2 separate regions of the Homo sapiens genome follow, and region 2 is linked to region 1. The links are contacts of gene promoters, found by promoter capture Hi-C in human tissues and cell types (Jung and others, 2019). All regions are on one chromosome and are shown on one strand. Each heading gives the region's core, a stretch centred on a gene start or on the middle of the fragment in contact. The rest is flanking DNA. Distances are from core to core; before and after follow the strand shown. Region 1 holds the start of ITGAE (integrin subunit alpha E). Region 2 overlaps ZZEF1 (zinc finger ZZ-type and EF-hand domain containing 1).

The links. The method cuts DNA at HindIII sites, captures the fragments that hold promoters and counts their contacts. A contact is called where the count stands out against the background at its distance.
Region 2: a fragment that was not itself captured here is called in contact with the fragment with the promoter of ITGAE in region 1 in 3 of the 25 tissues and cell types used here (mesendoderm cells, small bowel and thymus).

Annotation. Positions count from the first base shown.
Region 1 is chr17:3,798,968-3,802,866 of GRCh38, reverse strand. ITGAE (integrin subunit alpha E) reads left to right here and starts at 1,679. Exons shown (of 31, transcript NM_002208.5): 1 at 1,679-1,756. The coding sequence starts at 1,723. It overlaps NCBP3 (nuclear cap binding subunit 3), which reads left to right. Exons shown (of 13, transcript NM_001114118.3): 13 at 1-709. The HindIII fragment of the contact is 9,203 bases long and covers 1-3,899 here.
Region 2 is chr17:4,035,817-4,039,776 of GRCh38, reverse strand. All of the region lies in intron 39 of ZZEF1 (zinc finger ZZ-type and EF-hand domain containing 1), which reads left to right. Among named protein-coding and RNA genes, the nearest start is that of LINC01975, 61 kb to the right of the region's middle. The HindIII fragment of the contact is 7,006 bases long and covers 1-3,960 here.

The DNA.
Region 1 (3,899 bases), core at 430-2,929:
CCTGGCTTCCCGAGGCACCCTGACGTTCACACTCCAAACACAAAGTCTTCTCTCAGGAATCTCGAGTGAGCTGCAGTCTGGGTTCTAGCCCTGCCCTAGCAGGGATCTGCTCAGTGACTGGGCTGCTCTCTTCCTGCTTTAGGCCAATGCGGGGGAGAGGAGACCACTGTGACTCTCCCCAGTGCCCTTGGAGCGCAGAATGAAGTGAGGGGAGGAGGAGGGTCACGAGCCCTGGAGCGCTGGGAAGACAGGCTGTAGGCCGCAGGCCCCGATCCTGCCTGGGACGAGGTTCAACAGAAGTAGGATGGTTTCATCATGACCTGGCAGGAAAACCACCAGACCTGGAATTTTGCTTTTACAACTGTTTAACTTCTGTTTCATACAGGATGGAAACCGGTGAATTGTAATCTCACATAACCGAGCAAGATCTAGTAGTCATAAGCACTTTGTCAGAGCAAAGCAGACAAGGCAAAGTGTTGGAAATGTCATCGGATCTTCACAGAACCTTAGCCAAGCAGCCTTTCAATGCGAGAAACAAAATAACATGGATTTTTATCTAGTAATGAAGTCAACACCATTGTCCACCCTGGGTTAACACATTCACATCTCAAAGCGAATGGGGCTGCAGACACTCGTGTTAGAGAGCCTTGGAATGTCCTGCCTTTTTACGTTTAATTAAAATTAAATAAAATATACAAAATTCAGTTCATCAGTTGTTCTAGTGGCATTTTAAGGGTTTAGTACCATATGTGGCTCATGAGTACCATCCTGGACAGCGTCGACCTAGAGCAGTTCCATCCCCGCGCAGAGTTCTGTTTGACGGCGCCACTCTGCACTTCCAGCAGCCTGGGGAGCAGGGGTGCAGGAGAGTTCCTTCTGTGTCACAGACTTGGTCACACAGTACAGATCTCAGATCAGCACTTAAACACGACTGCCAGCTGTCAACGGCGTGTTCTGTGGAATGCTGGGATGCATCACAGGTATGCTGGAAGATGTATAGAATTTTACTTCTGTTATTCTGGTAACTCAGAGTCCTGTTCAGTCAGTTTCCACGTCAGGTTGCTGTCCTGGTTTTAAAGAGAATGAACGCAGCCGAAGTTGAATCGAGGCAGTGATTTCACTCAGTGCGTTGGGTCTTTCCACTCACCTGGCCCTCCAGAACCCCAGGGCCTTGAGTGCATGGGCTGGTACAAGAGCCCAGTTTTTGGCTGGGGAGGCACTTCCTATGGGAGGGGGACGCCTGTCTCAGTGCTGAGGCAACCACCACCGAGGACCCTGGGCTGGAAGCTGGGCTGAGATGTCTGGTGGTAGGTTCTGAGGCAGGACAGGGGACCGACTCAAATGGATGATACGAACGGCAGGCTGGATTCACGTTGCTCCTGCACCTCCAGCATCTGCTGAGGACACCTAGAACTGTGGCCCTGGCCAAACCTCAGCTCCCTATTCCATGAAAGTGTGGGTCAAAGTGTGGGTGGTAGAGTGGGGCTGACAGTGGCCCCTAAGCTCCTAGGGTCCAGCCCACAACTGAGGAAGCCACACGGCTGGTTGTGTACGAGCCGGAGTGTCTCTGTTTGGTTGAAAGTGCCGGTCTGTGGGTCCTTGCTGGTGTGTGTGCTTCTGTCCCCGCCTCCTGGCCTCCTGGCTGAGGGGAAGCTGAGTGGGCCACGGCCCATGTGTCGCACTCGCCTCGGCTCCCACACAGCCGCCTCTGCTCCAGCAAGGATGTGGCTCTTCCACACTCTGCTCTGCATAGCCAGTAAGTCCTCTCACCCGCTGCTTCGAGGGGCTGCTGTGCCCTCAGCTCCAGCCAGGTGTCTGCAGACTACAGCCTTGACTGTCTGTCTCTGATGGGGCTCAGTTAGAGCCAGAGGTTAGAGAGTGGCAGCTCCTCCAGGAAAGGAGTCTTGCTCGGTGGGTCAGGGCCCCAGGCTTGTTGGGAAGGGCGGCTGAGGCTTCGTGTTGCCAGTTCTGTCAGCCAGGGCCTTTGGACTCCAGGGCTCTGCCATTCTGTTCCTCCTCCAGCCAGCCTCCCCCCGCCACCGAGGCCCTCTCCCCATGGCACCCACTTGGGGCAGGTCCTTGACTCTGTAGTTTGTTCTCTGAGTGTGGAGGCTCCGCCTGGCAGAGCTCCCTTCTGTTACAGAGCAGGGGTTGGGCTGATGAGGGTGAGGACCCTGTGAGAGAGTGTTGACCAGAGACTGGGGGCAAGTGTCTGTATGGTAGAGGGTGTGAGTGTTGGCAGGGAGCCTGCTTCCTGTGTTGTCAGGCCCAGGGTAAAAACTGGAATGTGGGGTGGGGGGAGGCACTTCTGCTGCCTGGGGGGTCCCATTTTAGCCTTTAACTGTCCCATGGAAGCCTCTGGGCAAGCCAAGCCATGAGTCCTTTCGGGGGCCCCCTGTGATGAGACAGCACGGTCAGGTGAGCCCCTGGAGGCTGCTAAGATTAAGCCGGAGGCCAGGGTGGTCCTGCCTAGTGATCTGAGCAGACTTCCCATGGGTCTCCTGCCCCTGCTCAGGAGGTTGGCCGGAGAATTGGATGGGCATCAAGCTTATGTGGATGAAAGGCTCCTGGTAGCTGAGTTCTCCCTGAAAGATGGGCTGAGGCTGTGCTGGGAGGGGACTTGGGATTAGCATCCCACCTGGGGCCAGATCACCCAGGAAGCAGGCCACAATGTGTAGGGTACCAGCAAGGAACACGTTTTTGGACAGATTTTAATATTTTATATTTCATTTTATTTTATTTTATTTTTTGAGACAGAGTCTTGCTCTGCTGCCCAGGCTGGAGCCCAGGCTGGATCTTGGCTCACCATAACTTCTGCCTCCCAGGTTCAAGCAGTTCTCCTGCCTCAGCCTCCCGAGTAGCTGGGATTACAGGCGCCTGCCACCACGCCTGGCTAATTTTTGTATTTTTAGTAGAGACAGGGTCTCACCATATTGGTCAGGCTGGTCTCCTGCCCTCAGGTGATCGACCTGCCTCGGCCTCCCAAAGTGTTGGGACTACAGGCATGAGCCACCTTGCCCGGCCTAATATTTTATATTTCAAAAACATCAGAATAGTCACCATGGAAAGGTCAACAGTTTGTTGAACTTCCTTTTATTTTACAATTTAGACTTCTCTGTTTTTAGTTACATGTGGGGTGTGGAGAGAGTCTCACTCTTTTTATGGCTTGTGGCTTTGATCTCCCATTACCAAGAATATCTGGAGCAGATGCTTAGACTAGACTCTTGTCTACCCTCTCCCAGTACAGAGGAGGTGACTGGGGCACAGAGCGGGCAGTGACTACCCAGGCTTGCAAGCAACTGATAATAGACACGAGGCTCAAGCCCAGGCCTCTGTCCTGCCTCCCAGCTCCAGAATACTCCTGTGGCTCATCTGTCTCCTTTAGCCTCTGAGACCACCACCCATCACCTCAGTGCCTTTTCCAGCAGGTGGCATCGATCAAACCTCTTTTGAGGCCTAGGCCCTTCCCAAGCTGATGGGCAGCAGAGAGCGATGATGGAGCAGACTTGCCATGAGACCACTTAGCCCACAGCTCAGCTCAGCCACGGGAAGGGGACCAGAGCAGGGCCCCCGCAGCTCCGGTGTGGGTGGCGGAAACGAGGCTGCTGCAGTTCTGCTCCATGCTGTGAGGTCCTGAGACTAGGATGGGCCAGTCCAGGAGAGTTTCCTGGAGGAGGTGAGGTGGCGTTGAGTCTTGGGGGCTGAGGAGAGTCTGAGAAAGAAAATGTCCAGGAGATGCTGGGAGGAAGAACTCCCTCAGACTGTGGCTCCAGGCCCAGCACCCTGTACCCTGTGCCGGGTTGGGCCTCCTTAGGCTGGAGAGAATCCAGGACTGGCCTGGCCTGGCCCTGACCTTCCACTCTCTCCAGGCCAGCCACTCTGGTGATGCCTACTTCTTA
Region 2 (3,960 bases), core at 1,041-3,540, 240 kb before region 1:
AGCTACTCGGGAGGCTGAGGCAGGAGAATGGCGTGAACCCGGGAGGCGGAGGTTGCAGTGAGCCGAGATTGTGCCACTGCACTCCAGCCTGGGCGACAGAGTGAGACTCTGTCTCAAAAAAAAAAAAAAAAAAAAGTTCTCTTTCTATGTGCCTTCCCAGCATCATTTGCTTTTCTGATTAAAAACTCCATTTTTACTTCAGCTAAGGAAATGCCTTTCTGCCATTGTTTGGCTTTGCTTCTGTGTCTGCCCCATTTGCATCTCCTGGATGCAGGGCGGATTTGTTTGTTTGTTTGTTTGTTTGTTTGAGATGGTGTCTCACTCTGTCCCCCAGGCTGGAGTTCAGTGGTGCGATTTCAGCTCACTGCAACCTCCACCTCCTGGGTTCAAGCGATCCTTGTGCCTCAGCCCCCCGAGTAGCTGGGATTACAGGCGCATGCCACCATGCCCAGCTGATTTTTGTGTTTTTTTAGTAGAGATGGGGTTTCACTGTGTTGGACAGGCTGGTCTAGAACTGCCGATCTCAAGCAGTCTGCCCACCTCAGCCTCCCAAAGTGCTGGGATTACAGGCGTGAGCCACTGCGCCTGGCCAGGATGGACCCCTTGAATCTACCCTCCATCTTTTCTTCAGTTTGGTTGTATTTTTCATGTTTATCTCTTGTTCTGAGAGATTTCATTAAGTTGACTTTTTAAAATCACCACTGAGGTTATTTTCCCCTAATAATCTTTTTTTTTTAGCAGGCACTTTGGAGGGCAAATTATTAGTTTGATTTTAGTGTAAAAACTGCCTAGATAGAGTCCTATAAGGAATATATAAAGAACTCTTACAACCCAGTAATAAAAAGACCTCTGTCACCATAGGTTAGTTTTGCTTGTTTTGAAACTTTGTATAGCTGGAGTAAGTCGCTGCATTCCTCTTGCCTGGTGGTGGTGGTTTTTTGTTTGTTTGTTTGTTTGTTTGTTTGTTTTTTGAGACAGAGTCTTGCTCTGTTGCCCAGGCTGGAGTGCAGTGGAGCAATCTCGGCTCACTGCAGCCTCTGCCTCCCGGGTTCAAGTGATTTCTCGTGCCTCAGCCTCCCAAGTAGCTGGGACTACAGGAATGTGCCACCACACCCAGCTAATTTTTATATTTTGAGTAGAGCCGGGGTTTCACCATGTTGGCCAGGCTGGTCTTGAACTCCTGGCCTCCAGTGATCCACCCACCTCGGCCTCCCAAAGTGCTGGAATGACAGGCGTGAGCCGCTGCGCCCGGCCTGTGTCTGGCTTCTTCTGCTCAACATTATGTTTGTGAGATGCATCCATGTTATTGTGATTAGTTTCCTTTATTCATTTTCACTGTTATCCAGAATTCCATTATATGAATATGCCATAATTTTAAAGTTCACGTTACTATTGTTAAGTGTTTCTAAACTGGAAATTACTCCAGACAATACTATGAGCACACCTGTCTGTGGCTTTTGATGAGCATCTGAATGCAGGCCAAACTTGGCCTGCCAAACAGTTTCTGCCGTTGTTTGTACCAGTTCACACTCCCTGCCAAACAGTTTCTGCAATGTTTGTACCGGTTCACACTCCCACGGCAGCACATGAAAGCTTTATTTGCTCCATATCCTCTCAAATTTAGAAATAATTACAAACTTATGTAAAAGTTAAAAGTACTATACAAATAATTTTATGCCTGAAAGTTGCCAAGTTCATGCCATATTACTTCTAAATATGTTAGTGTGTGTTTTCTACAAACAAGGAGATTCTCCTGTGTAACCAGACAGCAGTCATCAAAGTCAGAGAAATTAACATCAGTACATTGCTGCCATCTAATGCTTACTCCCTACTCAAGTTTCACTAGTTTGCTCCAAAAGTGTCTTTTATGGCAGGAGGATCAGAATTAATGTATAGGCCAGGCACAGTGCCTTGAATCTGTAATCCCAGCACTTTGGGAGACCAAGTAGGAGGGTTGCTTGAACCCAGGAGTTCGAGACCAGCCTGGGAAACATAGCAAGACTCTATCTACAAAAAAATAGAAAAATTAACCAGGCATGGTGGCACACACCTATAGTCTCAGCTACTTGGGAGGCTGAGGCAGGAGGATCACTCGAGCCCAGGAGGTCGAAGTCATAGGGAGCCAAGGTTGCACCTCTGCATTCCAGTTTGGGCAATAGGGTAAGACTCTGTCTCTTAAAAAAAGAAAAGAAAAAGAAAAAGAATGAACGTGTAGCAGTTTGTTGTCATGTCTTTTAATCACCTCTAGTCTTTAACAGTTATCAGTCTTTACTTTCGTGATCATGAGCTTTTGAAGATCACAGGCCACCTATTGTGTGGAATGTCCTCCTCTTTGGGGTTGGAGTTTATCAGATGTCTCCTCATAATTAGATTCAGGCTTTGCCTCTTGGGCAGGAAAATCACAGATGAGATGCTGCATTCTCATTGCAGCCTGTCAGGTGGAACACAGTTTTGACGTATTTCATTACTGATCATGTTTACTTTGATCACTGGATTAAGTGGTGTCCATTAGCCTTTTCTACCATAATCTTTCCACTTTTGTTATTAGTAAATATTTAGTGGGGAGAGTCTTTGAAACTATGTAAATATCCTGTTTCTCATCAAACAATTTATTTATTTAGTTAGTTATATCAGTATGGGTTCATGATTTCCTGTTTTACTCCATGAGCTATAATCCATTATTCTGATTACTTATTTTGACCAGTGGGAACCCATTCCCGCTGACTTCTGTGTCCTTTTGACATATCCCCATCATTTCAGCACTTCTTAAATTCTCCCTCCCCTAGCCCTAGAATCAGCCATTTCTCTAAGGTGACCTCATTCCTTTTGGTAGAGGATAGTATGTTGAAATGGCTTGAGCACTAGGTGGGTTCATTGCTAACAGGGTGTCACTGCTCCCCAGTCTTCCCAGTGCGGGCGGGCGGGGTGCGGGGAGAGAGAGAGAGAGAGAGAGAGAGAGTGTGTGTGTGTGTGTGTGTGTGTGTGTGTGTGTGTGTGTGTATTCTATATATTTATTTAGAGCAGTGATTCTCTTTTTTTTTTTTGAAGATGGAGTTTCCCTCTTGTCGCCCAGGCTGGTGTGCAGTGGTGCAATCTCTGCTCACTGCAACCTCCGCCTCCCGGTTCAAGTGATTCTCCTGCCTCAGCCTTCCTAGTAGCTGGGATTACAGGCACGTGCCACCACGCCTGGCTAATTTTTGTATTAGTAGAGATGAGGTTTCACCATGTTGGTCAGGCTGGTCTTGAACTCCTGACCTCAGGTGATCCACCCACCTCGGCCTCCCAAAGTGCTGGGATTACAGGCGTGAGCCACCGCGCCCGGCCTTAGAGCAGTGATTCTCAAACTGAAGGTATCCAATATGGCTATTTGACAGTGCCTTGAGACATTTTTGACTGTCACAACTCAGGGAATGCTCCTGGAATTCTAGCGGAGTCTACACTATAGGAATTGCTGGTAAACATTTTTAAATGCACAGGTGCCACTTACCCCACACACACATGAGAATTATCAGACCTAAATTTCAGTAGCACTGAGGTTGAGAAACCCTGATTTAAAGAATCCAGTCTTTAACGGTGAGAATCCTGGATCCCATCATCCTTCGTATAATTACCTACTGGATCAGTCTCACATCTCTGCTGCTGTTCTTCTTTTGAGGTGTCCTCCTTTCCTTGTTTCGACTCTTTTTTTTTTTTTTTTTGGACAGGCTGTAGTGCAGTGGTGCAATCTCGGCTCACTGCAACCTCTGCCTCCCCGGTTCAAGCGATTCTCCTGTCTCAGCCTCCTGAGTAGCTGGAATTACAGGCGCCAACCACTACACCCGGCTAATTTTTATATGTTTAGTAGGGACAGGGTTTCACCATGTTGGCCAGGCTGGCCTTGAACTCCTGACCTCAGGTAATCCCCCTGCCTTGGCCTCCCAAAGTGCTGGGATTACAGTGGACTCTTGACATGGATACCTC